2 separate regions of the Homo sapiens genome follow, and region 2 is linked to region 1. Evidence: promoter capture Hi-C in 16 types of primary human blood cells and fetal thymus (Javierre and others, 2016). All regions are on one chromosome and are shown on one strand. The core of a region is centred on a gene start or on the middle of the fragment in contact, and the rest is flanking DNA. Distances in the headings are between cores, read along the strand shown.

The links. Contacts are between HindIII fragments. The CHiCAGO score rates a contact against its expected background, and 5 or more counts as called.
Region 2: a fragment that was not itself captured here is called in contact with the fragment with the promoter of ZRANB2 in region 1 in 1 of 17 cell types (fetal thymus); the score reaches 8.2 in fetal thymus.

What each region holds. Positions count from the first base shown.
Region 1 is chr1:71,077,522-71,083,658 of GRCh38, forward strand. It overlaps ZRANB2 (zinc finger RANBP2-type containing 2), which reads right to left and starts at 3,514. Exons shown (of 10, transcript NM_203350.3): 1 at 3,419-3,514; 2 at 1,135-1,187; 3 at 936-1,044. The coding sequence starts at 3,474. ZRANB2-DT (ZRANB2 divergent transcript) reads left to right here and starts at 3,803. Exons shown (of 4, transcript NR_046217.1): 1 at 3,803-3,892. RefSeq lists an enhancer at 3,464-3,753. The HindIII fragment of the contact is 3,322 bases long and covers 3,369-6,137 here.
Region 2 is chr1:72,479,164-72,486,098 of GRCh38, forward strand. The region is part of intron 1 of LOC105378797 (a long non-coding RNA gene); the gene reads left to right. Among named protein-coding and RNA genes, the nearest start is that of NEGR1, 200 kb to the left of the region's middle. The HindIII fragment of the contact is 3,339 bases long and covers 4,012-6,935 here.

The DNA.
Region 1 (6,137 bases), core at 2,264-4,763:
ACAAATTTATAATCCTGAGGATCAGAAATTTATTTAAGACTCTAGGGTCAGGAATAGTGGCCCATGCCTCGCCTGTAATCCCAGCACTTTGGGAGGCCAAGGCAGGCAGAATGCTTGAGCTCAGGTGTTCGAGGCCATCCTGGGCAACATGGTAAAACCCTGTCTCTACCAAAAATATAAAAAAATGAGCCAGGCATGGTGGCATGGGCCTGTGGTCCCAGTTACTAAGGAGGCTGAAGTGAGAGGATTGCTTGAGCCTGGGAGGTAGAGGTTACAGTGAACTGAGATCGCCCCACTGCACTCCAGCCTGGGTGACTGAGTGGGACCTCATCTCAAAAACAAAAAATACAAACAAACAAAAAGAGAAATTTATTTAATACTTTTTTGATTTAGACCTCTTTCATACACATAGGATTCATCTGCATAGAGAAAAGATGGAAGTTGGAAAAATCAATGAAGAATTAAATCTAAGCCTGAAAATAAAAATCATTAAGAAACCTACCTATAATTAGACTTAATTACTTACGGCACACAACTTATGAATCTAACATTATTTTGTAAACAGGCAAAATGAGTTTTGTGGTGTATTTCACACTAACTATACAGTCTAAAAATTGGGATTTTTCAATAAAGGAAGTAATAGGCCTTAGTACTTTTAAGTACCACCACCCCCCGATTGGTTTTGAGCTTACCATAAGCATTTGTTTACTGGTATACATAATCCATCATAGTGACAACTATTACCATTAAAAAATGCAAAGAATAATTTAAAACTTCTTTATACTATACTTAAAGATGAGACTGAATAACAATACCTTGGATTTAAAAGGTTACCCTGGCTTGTCAATGTCACTAATAAGAGCTGTAATATAAACAAGTAGTGGCCAGATCTATTATTTTGGAAGAAAGAGCAGACAATAATTTAAAAAACATACGTTTTACATTGCCAGTCATTAGCACTAAATAGGCCTCGGCTCTTTTCTGCAAGTGTCTTTCCTATTTCAGTGCCCCCAGCTTTCATCATCTTGGCCTCAGTTGTTTTCTCTGAAAACAGAAAAATCATGCAATATGAACCTGGAGAAATAAATAAATGATACATATACAGTATAAATAGAATCTTCTTTAAATACTTACCCCGACCACATCGATTACAGCTGGTTCTTCTAGCAAAGTTTACATTTCCACATCTAAAAACAGATTAAAAAGCATTTATAAAAATTTAAATTTGTAAAATTTTACATTTTAACTTGTCCTCACTACATATCTGGAATTCATAACTTCTAATCCATCTTAGTCATGTTAATGTCAATGTTACCAACAAAAAACTCCACACAATTTACTGGGGGAAAAATACTTGATTGGAGCCACAAATTCAGAATAAGATATCCCAATCCTCCATTTACCAGTCATGTGATCTTGATTAAGTTACTTAGGATCTCTGCCTCAAGTCCTCACATTAGCACATATCATTAGTTATAATCCCTTTACAAAGTTGAAAGTGAGAGTTAACTCCACTTCACTAATTACTTACAAGCTACCAGGGAGTTTTAAACCCTAGCGGTGGACCAATGAGGAAAAAAACTTATAAATCAAGGAGGGCTTCATGGATCTTAATGAAATTATCTTTTTACATGCAGTAGGTAGGATGCTAAGGAACCAAATATGATAGGTTGTACTGACTAAAAATACAAAAAGATTCAATAATTGTAAGAAAACTGAGTTTTACAGGGCATTTCTCAAACCTCTGAGACTTCGCTGAAAAAAATGACACAACCACCAAAACCAATAATCTCAACACATGTAGTACAGTAAGACTTTATGCTTATACTCAACAAACTCAAACCTAAAGAATTACTGGTTCACTCACATGACCTTAGAAGTGTACGTGTATATTGGTAAAAGTATGTTAAATGCTCTGGATAACATGGAATGCTTAAACTTTAAAAAGCTGATTTTTAAGGCATTATACTAGAATACAATACAGATGTGAAGTATGGGATGACACTAAAGTGAAACACTCTAAATAATATTTAGGTTAAGTTTTTCCCCTAAAAATATTCCTTTTAACTCCATTAAGCATGGAAAATATACTCTGAAAATTTATCCTGCATTTAAACATATTGTACAAACAACATTCTATTCATATATTTGTAAATGAGTTGAAATGAACTCTCATTGAGAGTCCTACCTCTGGGTGTGCTGTCATTAAAGACACTGACAAAAGCACATTATTTTACAGGTAACAACAAAGTCAGAAGTTGTTGTTCTAAATCTTTTGAACGTTTTCAATAATGTCTTACCACTCAGAGCAATACTATCCATAACATATAACTTTGGTTCTATTCAGTATCATTTGTTAGGCTTGAACTACTCCTTCAGGTCATCTTAATATCAAATTACTATCAATAGCCACCAATTAGAATTTGCTACACGTCACTGTTTACACACCCTATCCATGTTATTTCATGTTTTCATTAAAAAAAAAATTCTATTCCTTTTTTAGCAGTTAAATAAGTAATAGAATTTTAACTAAACCCAGGTTTATTTCAAAGTTTTTGCTTTTTACAATCAAAACCTATTTGTGGCTAACTTAGGTACAACAAATAAAAGGCTTTTATGTGAACATGAGTTGTACATTAAATTATTTTCCATGTTATTTCCGAATAGATACACCTATTTGTGCACCCTTCAAAAAAAATCTGATTAACTATCTAGTCGAGTACTGGCTTTGGCAACAATGTCAAAAAGCAGAGCCACTAACACACGTGCTTCTCTGCTGCAGGCATCTTAAGGGCTGAGTAGGCAAAAACACAGGCCTCTTCCCTCCTTTTCGGCTCTAAGGAGGCGAAAAGCCCAATTCTTGTGGAGAAATGATCCACAAAGAAAATGTCAGAATTTCCCAAACCGAAGAGGGTAGAGCTTCCGGAAAAGGGGAAAATAGTATGGAGGAAAAGTTTGAGTAAAAATACAAAACAAGGTGAACTATAAGAGGCAAAAGGACGAGTGCGAGAAAGCAATATTTTCCGTGAACAAGAGTAAAGTTCTGCAGAGAAAAGTCACGTGGGGGAGATCCAACACCAAGCTGGCCTGACTGGAGAGGTTTCCTATCGCTAAAACCTGGCCGGGGCGGGGGAGGGGGGTGGGGGCAAAAAGGTAGGCCATCTCGCACTCTAAAAAGAGAGGCTACCTTGCGGAGGTAATGTCGAGGAAACGCTGAAGACATATCTAGAACAAAGGCTCCCGGAAAGACCTCTCTCGTGAGGAGATTGGGAGCCTTCTTCCCGCCAGGGAACTGGCGGTTCGCCGCCTCAACCCGTCTTAAGGCACAGAAAATCATAAAAAAGGAAAATGCCGGACGGACCTCGGAAAGCTTCCACTAACAAACTCCGTCCCAATTCAGGACCCTTCTTGAACTCACTTTTTGTCAGGGCAAATCCAGTCCCCGTCACTGACTCGGAAATTCTTGGTCGACATCTTGAACGCCACCAGCACAGCCACCCGCAGCTATGTCTTCACAGGAGGAAAACGGGCCGGGGACTTTCGGCAACTCGGGGCTGTCCCCACACTGCCTGACTCGCGCCTACTACTGTGTCAGGGTTTGATAATGAGGGAACTAGCCAGGAATTCAGCTTGTACGTTGTTGTCCAGACTAAGATGCCTGTGCTACTGTTTGTTAGATGGAAAAGTTAAAATACAAATATCTTTTCTAGAACTAAACTCACAGGCGCCATAAGGACAACCCAGGCAGGAGGCCTTCGTGGCACTAGAAGCCTCGGAGAGCCCCCTACAGGTGGGAGGACCCAAGAGTAAAGTACTTCCGCTTCCTTAGGTGGAGCTGGAAAGGTGGAGGCGGAAGTGACTGATCAATTCAGGGGCGTGGGGTTCGTTTAGGGTAAGAGGCGGCTCGGGCTCTTCAAGTGTTTAGAGAAATTATTTTAATAAGGCATAAAAATTCTGTTATTTCATACACATGGGATGTCGTTTGGAAACCTATTTTTATATATACATAAATAGGTGTAACAGATAAGTAAGCAACTTATACATGGGAACCAGCTGGTAATTTTAAAACTGAGACATTGTCAACACTGTTTAAATTACCAGTGTCTTTTCTGATACCATCCCATTACTTTCTTCCACAGATAACACTTTCCCATATTTGGGATTTATTCTTTTGCTTTTTAAAAATTTATGTACGTTGTTAGTCCAAACTGCACCATTTTTGTAAGCCCCCCTGCCATTTTGCAGACCTTAGTCAAAGTGAAACATTCCACGGGGTTCGGGCGTGAGAAACAGGCTGCCTCTTATACTCTGCTGGGAGAAAGTACCACATTCCACTGGAACAAGGGCCAGAGCCGCCTCGTCCTGGGAACACCTTATCAACATGTTCCCAGGAAGCAGGCCATGGCCCCCCAGACCACTCCCACCCAGGCCTATAAATCACCCCAGCCTGTAAGAAGCAACGGGCACTGGCATTAAGCTGGTCTCCCACCTCTGTAGGTCTTATGCTGGACATAAATCCTGTATTTGTTGTTAAGCCACCCTCTCTTTCTTTAATCCTTGCCTTCCCTTCAAAACCTAACATACATGTATGTTTAATTTTATGAGCTGTGTAAGCATAGTTGATTCTGTACTCTTTTTTTGTTCATTATGCTTCTAAATTAATCCTAGGTAGTTGCATGTAGAAGTGTATAGGTGTAATTCTTTTATTTGCACTGATGTATACTGATACTATTCCGTTTTGTGGTTTTGTGACAGTTTATTCCTTCTGTTTCTCAGGCTTGGTATTACAAACAACACCAGTATGAGCATTCTTATGCATAGATTCTGGTATATAAATGCATTAATTTTTTTTAGAATACAGCATATACAGTCATGCCTCACTTAATGATAGGGATATGTTCTGAGAAATGCCACTTTCGGCAATTGTGCTGTTGTGTGAACATCATAGAATGTGCTTACACAGGCCTAGCAGGTATAGCCTACTACACACCTAGGCTATATGGTATAGCCTATTGCTCCTAGACTACAAACCTGCATTTAGTACATCTTATTGTACTAAATACTGTAGGCAGTTGTAACGCAGTGGTATTTGTGTATCTAAATATAAAGGTACAGTAAAAATATGGTATTGTAATCTTATGGGACCACCTTTGTATATGTGGTTCATCATTGACTGAAATGTCTTTATGCAAGTATGATTATGTTTAGGAGAGAAATTGTTCAACTACTCTCTAGTTATGATTGTTGCTTTAAAATCTGTATTATAACATTTTGGTCATCTAGGAGTTAGCAGGTGTTGATTATATTTTCCCTTGCAAGTTGGTCACATTTTTCCAGTTCTTTTATACTGTGTAATTGTGGATTTTATCTAGGACATTTTGAACATTATGTTGCATAGACTGAGTCCTGTTAAAAGCCTTTAGGGAATGTTGATTTTTTTTTGTTTTAGAAGGCAATCGATCCAATTTGGTTCAGGTCAAAAGTTCGGTCTCATCTTCTATGAGTACTGGTTCCATGTCAGCTGGGTTTTCAAAGGCTTTGCTGTGTCCTATACCTACAATACTCAGGGATTATTTGGGGATGTTAGCAGTAGTTTAAATTGAAATTCAGTTTTGCTATGCTATTTTGTGTTTGTTCTGCACGTGTTCAGTTTAGGTGTGAACACAGAACTTGTATAGGTTCATACATAGAATTAGGGGATCCTCTTCTCTAGCTCTCTCCTCTTACATTCTTCTCCTTTTGTCTCGCAAGGTCCTCTCACCAGAAATATGAGGTTCCTCTTGGAGTTTTAGCAGCCTGGCATAGCAGCTGACTAGGGCAGATTCTGAGACAAAGCAGTGACAGAAAAGAGAGAGAAAAAATGTGGATTCCCTCTACACTCTTCAGACCACAAAGGCCTCCTTTTCTACTTCCTTTGTCCATAAAAACAGAGCTTCTGTTAGTATTGTAGATACCCAAGCCTAGGGCCTCACTCTTGGGCCAATGCCCAGAGAGAGAGAGAGAGAGAGAGAGAGAGAGAGAAATTAAAAAAAAGAAAGAAAAACCAGAAGAGGGGGAGCTAAGTATTCCCCCGACTAACTTTTGGCTCACAAAAGCCCCCTATCCCCATTCTGGCAAGACATACAGGTTTCTGTCGG
Region 2 (6,935 bases), core at 4,431-6,930, 1.4 Mb after region 1:
AGGAGCAAGTCACATCTTACATGGATGACAGCAGGCAAACAGAGCTTGTTCAGGGAAACATCTGTTTTTACAAGTATTAGATTTCATGAGACTCATTCACTATCATGAGAACAGCACAGGAAAGACCAGCCCCCATAATTCAATCACCTCCCACTGAGCTCCTCCCATGACATGTGAAAATTATGGGAATTACAATTCAAGATGAGATTTGTGTGGGGACACAGAGCCAAACCACATCATTCCACCCTTGGCCCCTCCCAAATCTCATGTCCTCACATTTCAAAATCAATCATGCCTTCCCAACAGTCCCCCAAATTCTTAACTCATTGCACCATTAACTCAAAAGTCCACAGTCCAATGCCTCATCTGAAACAGGGCAAGTCCCTTCCACTTATGATCCTGTAAAATCTAAAACAAGTTAGTTACTTCCTAGATACAATGGGGGTACAGGAATTGGGTAAATACAAAGTGGCTACAGGCCCCATTCAAGTTCAAAATCCAGAAGGACAGTCAAATCCTGAGGCTCCAAAATGATCTCCTTTCACTACATTTCTCACATCTGGATCACACTGATGCAAGAGGCGGGTTCCCATGGTCTTGGGCAGTTCCTCCCCTGAGGCTCTGCAGGGGACAGCCTCCCTCTCTGCTGATTTCACGGGCTGCGGTTGAGTGTCTGGGGCTCTTCCAGGTGCACAGTGCAAGCTGTCAGTGGATTTGCCATTCTGGGGTCTGGAGGATGATGGCCTTCTTCTCAAAGCTCCACTAGGGTATACCCCAGTAGGGACTCTGTGTGGGAGCTCTGACCCCACATTTCCCTTCCGCACTGCCCTAGCAGAGATCCTCCATGAGAGCCCACCCCTGCAGCAAACTTCTGCCTGGACATCCACGTATTTCCATACATCCTCTGAAATCTAGGTGTAGGTTCCCAAACCTCAATTCTTGACTTCCGTGCACCCACAGGCTCAACACCACATGGAAGCTGCCAAAGTTTAGGGCTTACCCCCTCTGATGCCACAGCCTGAGCTCTATGTTGGACCCTTTCAGCCATGGCTGGAGTGGCTGGGACACAGGGCACTAAATCCCTAGGCTGCACATAGCACAGGTACCGTGGACCCAGCCAACAAAACACTTTTTCCTCCTAGGCCTCTGGGCTTGTGATGGGAAGGGCTGCCTTGAAGACCTCTGACATGGCCTGGAGACATTTTCTGCATTGTCTTGGGGATTAACATTTAGCTCCTCACTGCTTCTGCTAATTTCTGCAGTGGGCTTGAATTTCTCCTGAGAAAATGGGATTTTCTTTTCTGTCACATTGTCAGTCTGCAAATTTTCCAAATGTTTATGCTCTCCCCCCTTATAAAACTGAATGCCTTTAACAGCACCCAAGCCACCTCTTGAATGCTTTGCTGCTTAGAAATTTCTTCCACTAGATACCCTATATCGCCTCTCTCAAGTTCAAAGTTCCAGAGATCTCTAGGGCAGGGGCAAAATGCCACCAGTCTCTTTGATAAAACATAACAAGAGTCCAGTTTGGTCCAGTTCCCATCAAGTTCCTCATCTCCATCTGTGACTACTTCAGCCTGGACCTTATTGTTCATATCATTATCAGCATTTTTGTCAAAGCCATTCAACCAGTCTCTAGGAAATTCCCAACTTTCCCACATTTTCTTCTGAGCCCTCCAAATTTTTCCAACATCTTCCTGTTACGTAGTTCCAAAGTCACTTCCACATTTTTGCGTATCTTTTCAGCAGTGCACCCCTCTGCTGGTACCAATTTACTGTGTTAGTCCATTTTCATGTTGCTGATAAAGACATACCCAAAACTGGACAATTTACAAAAGAAAGAGGTTTATTGAACTTACAGTTCCACATGGCCTGGGAAGCCTCAAAATCATGGTGGAAGGCAAGGAGAAGCAAATCATATCTTATGTGGAGGGCAGCAGGCAAAGAGAGCTTGTGCAGGGAAACTCCCATTTTTAAAACCATTGGATCTCATGAGGCCCATTCACTATCACAAGAACAGTGCAGGAAAGACATGCCCCCATAATTTAATCACCTCCCACCGGGTTCCTCCCATGACATGTGGGAATTGTGGGAATTACAATTCAAGATGAGATTTGGGTGGGGACACAGCCAAACCATATCACTACCTAAGCCCATTCTAGTATGAAACAAAGAGGAAAAATTCTGATTCCTAGTATTAGCCAGTTATATAAATTTGGGTAACTTTTATTTTGTCACAGCACTTCCTCATCTATTAAATATTTCCTCATCTATCAAATGGAACAATAGGATTACTTTCCAAATAGGATTGGTACATAATACCTGAAGCCAGAAATTTTCCCTGACCCCTTCACGGGCAGGACCTGGAGTGTATGGACACTGGCAGGGGCGAACTACACTCACTCAAACCTGCTGCACTCAACCCCTCACAGGAGGAGCAGACGCAGAAGCCCAGGTGATCGCTTTTGGGCACTGGCAGGAACAAATTGTATACTGGCCCCACAGCAGCATCTAGGGGGGTGCCTGTGATCCCTGAAGCCCCAGAAGCAATGTTACAGTCAGTGCTCTTTTAGCTTTGCCATCTGCAGGTGGCTTAAGTGTTGACAGCTCAATGGAAGGTTAGCGTGACAGCCTTTTGCACCTGCACCCAAGTTCTTATCTGGTGTCTAGGAAGAATGAGGTCACACAAACAAACTGGAGATGGTAAATGCAGGGGCTTTTATTGCCAAATAAAGTGGCTTTCAGAGTGAGAGGGAAGGGAAGCTGGAAAGGGAACAGAGCTGTGAGGTAATTTTCTGAAGCTATGCCATTAAGCCATCCCTGTGAAGTCAAGCTGCTTCTCTGCGACATCGAATTGTAGTCTTTAATGTCCATGTGCTCCTCTTCTTCTCCTCCCTCTGGCAGCAGAGCCTGGGTTTTTATGGGCACAGGTTTGGGGTTCAGGGTAGGCCATGGGTGGTTTTGGAAAAGGCAACATTTGAATGGGAAAATAGGAATGTATGTTCTCACTTTGGGCCGAGGTTCCAGGCCTGAGGGTGGGGCCCTTGCTGCAGACCCACCCTCTTCTGCCCAGAATTTCCCTGTCTTCTGTCTCTTTCATAACCACTCTGTAATGGAAGAAATTGTTAAAAGTATTATTTTGCATTTTCTTCCTTTGAATCCCCATATGTTGCAGTATGAGGGCAGAGCCCCTGTTTTATTTATCTCTGTACCCTCAGTATCTTGAGGCTGTCAATGAATATTTGCTGCAGCATGGTATATAGCAGTCAGTTTAGACCTTAGCATGCATCAGATTCACCAGATTAGCTTGTTAAATAAATAGATTCCTAGGTTGTACTCCTAGACTTTCTGATCAGGTCTGTGGTGAGGCCTGACAATTTGTATGTCTCACAATTTCCTAAGTGATGTTGCTGCTACTGGTCTGGCAACTATAATTTGAGGACAACTTACATGTGGCAAGAAATTAAATTGGCATTCAAGTCAAATATACTGTATTAAAACTTCACTATAATACTTGGTAGTATTTTTAAACATTGTAAGTCACTTAAATATTTTCGTAGTACCACTCCTCGCCTACAAGAAAGAAAGTGCACATTCAGTATTAAATCCGGTTTTCTCACAATCCAACAAATTATCTATGCTTTCCGTGTCCTAAGATTGGGTGACGTGAGATAATCCCATTCCACTCCTGTCGGCAGTAACTTTGAAAGGCCCTGTTCCTCCTCTATCCTTCTCCTGACTGCTGATATATAACTAGAAATCCTGCTCACTATACCCAGACAGCCCAAATTCCTGCTCTGTTCTAACCATCCCCAGTTCCTGGATGAAATTTTCATCATATCTATGCCTTCTTTTTCAATTTGCATTTAATTCTTAACATAACACTGGCTCAAAATTTGTCACCCACTCAGAGGTCATCTTATCTCTGGAACTGTGAAAGGTACTGTACTTTGGTAAATACAACACCTTTTTGAAAAGTATACAGTCTAGTGAATTCAAGAGAAAGGTCAAAGCTTAAGTAAATGAAACCGAGTGTTATCTATACAATGATATTTGACATAAGGAGAGTCTTTGAAATTCCAGGAAGAGCGTAAAGAGAAAAAACAAAATGCCCTTCAGAACAGACACATAAAAGGAAACCACATGTCTTTAGAAGGCAGAAAGAAAGAAGTGCACTTTGCTACACTATACTATTAATTGTTGTACTGGTTAGTCATTCAGACAGAATTCAAATCACTTCTAAAATTTTGAAAAAAGTAGACTTTATCTCTGGCCCAATTTACCTGCAACTATTTTGAGACAGTGTAAGATTTTTTTAAGACTGTGAAGATTACCAGCATCATAAACTTGTTACTCTTCTATCATGCAAGAATAGGCTGAGCTTAGTTGGAGGCCTGTAGTTTAAAATTCATCATTTCGCTGTACAGTTATGACTGTGCAAAAGAAGTGTTTGCATATCGTGGGTATTTTTTCCATTGTTTTGCAAAAATTCTTAACCAAGTTATAAGGAGATGAAAAGCTATTTTGGTCTGTATTTGAAAATCTGTATATTAGAGCACATTTATTATATATGTAAATAATAATAAAATAAATTTCATTGTTTCTGTTTTTTACTTTTTCCTCATACTACCATTTTCTTACAACAGAGCCTAACATAATTATGGCTGTTCATTTAAAAAGGTTTGGAGATGGTAATATCTAGTGAAGTGAGATAGACCTCAGCAAAAAAAAAAATCCACATCTGCAAATAACTGGTAGGATACATGTTAATGAGTTGTTTCTGTGGTCCCAGTGCCTTAAGTGTGTTCAGGATCCAAATCTAAATGCAATGTGCTTTTGAACACTAAAAGTGACAGGGCAAAATCTGGGTGGCTTATCACTGGTGAAAACAGGTGCACACCATCTCTTTCATTTCATTGACATGCATTCTGCACCATTCATCAACCTGATTTTTTCTTCTCTAGCCTAACCTTTTGGTGACAGTAAACATGACTTGACAGAGGGTCCAACAAAGAAATTATGTGATCTTTAACCTTTTCTGGTTTGTGACAGGTTTGGGACACATCTGGACTAATCCATCAGGGAGGGAAGATTTCTTTAGAATTATAATATGACAGTGATCTTTAGGAGCAAACAGGCATGTGTTTGTGTAAAGTCCCTTTCAGTTAAATCTAAATGAATAGAAAATAATGATAATGTTCAGCCTAAAGAAGCCCATTTTCCTAGGGTAAAAGGAACCTTCCTTCTCAAATGAAAGGCAATAATAGTCCAGCATACATTAAAAAAAATATGTAGCATCTACTAGAAAAATTGTTTATAAATTGGTTCTTATGGATTTATTATTGAATATAGATATGTATGTAAATGAGAAAGCAGACACTGTAGGCAACTGTGGAATTTAGTCATGTGCAGAGTGAGGATCATTAATTGTAAATATGCATTTGTGTAAATATATCTGTAGGTGAAAATGTATTTATACATGACGAACTTTTTAAACTATTTCCTCGAAACTATTTGTCCAATATAATTGGATGACTAAATACCAATGCAGCTACTCCCTAGTTTTGAAATAAAAGAGAAGAAATAGAATCAAGTATAAATACTCAGAGTTATCCTATGCCCTGGTGCAAAAATGGGTCTTTTCTAATCTCTTTGTTTTTGTTTTTTTTTAATCAGAATGATTTACATATGAATTTTATTCTGAACTAGAAAAAAAACTATGAAAATCCAGCTCAGTGATCTCTCAGAAAAAGTAGGAAAAATAAGGCATTTTACTCCTATCAAACACTATACTGGTTTAAAATGCTTTTACTCACTTTGGCATATAACTTTACATATTGAACTCCCAAACCACAATTAAACAGAATTTTCCTATCCCTCATTCCCTTTACATTTTGCCTGACTGTCCCAGAAGACTAAAGAATAAACTGATAGTCTCTACTGTCTTATATTCTGAGATAACTGAAGTCCCTCCATTTTTTTAATGGGAAACATCCAGACCTTCTTTTGTTTTAACCTTCGAAGGAAAACATTAAATTCCTACATGTGTGCTTACAATAATGATTTTAGTAACATTTTGGGTGGTGAATGGAGATCATATTTGAGCTGATTAGCAATTTAATCCCTCAGTAAATGACAGGAAAAATATTCCTATGGTGTGGGATACTTGGTAGAGGTGCTCTGCCAGGCTAAAACAAAATGTAGCCACAACTGTTTCCTGATTATATAGATTTGTAGCTGAAATAAATAGATGTTTCCCATTATTATCTAGTAGAATTAATAGGGATCCTTTAAAACTACACCTACCACATGACTAAGTTACTTTTTATAAGTTCCTACTATGTTTCTGTGATGTCATATATCCAACTGTAGGCTTAGTTCACGATGTTCTTCAGCTCCTTTCATCAGATGATTTTTAAGATGTATTTTATAAATAAATATTTTAGGCCTCAGATCTCACCTCTCAGTTTCAAATGAAGGCTTCGTTTGGATTCTGTCACTGATTTAAATCAAACACTTGTAAACTATTATTTAAGCACATGCAGAGTTTTCTAAACTACTGTTTGAGTCATAAAAAGCTCCTTCATTCCATTTTATTTAGAATTTGTAAAATAATGTACTACTTTTTAAAGTCAAAACGACTTTCTAATTACTTTCCTGCAGTTGGCTTCTAACATACAGTGAGTAATATTTCTTGTTAGCTAAAATTAAGTTTAAAAATCAGTAACAAGTCTACAGAGTAGTAGAAGATTTTCATTTATAAACATATCTTCATGAAATGTAGGTTCTCAGCCTAGGAAAGGCTTGGTGGAAAGCAGCCAGGGTGTTATAGGGAACATATTTCCAGGGATAGCAGCAAGAGATCATCAAATCTTGGCATTTTTCCTAGAATTTATCCTGAGCAGTTTAAGGAAAAATAAATGTGGCTATACACA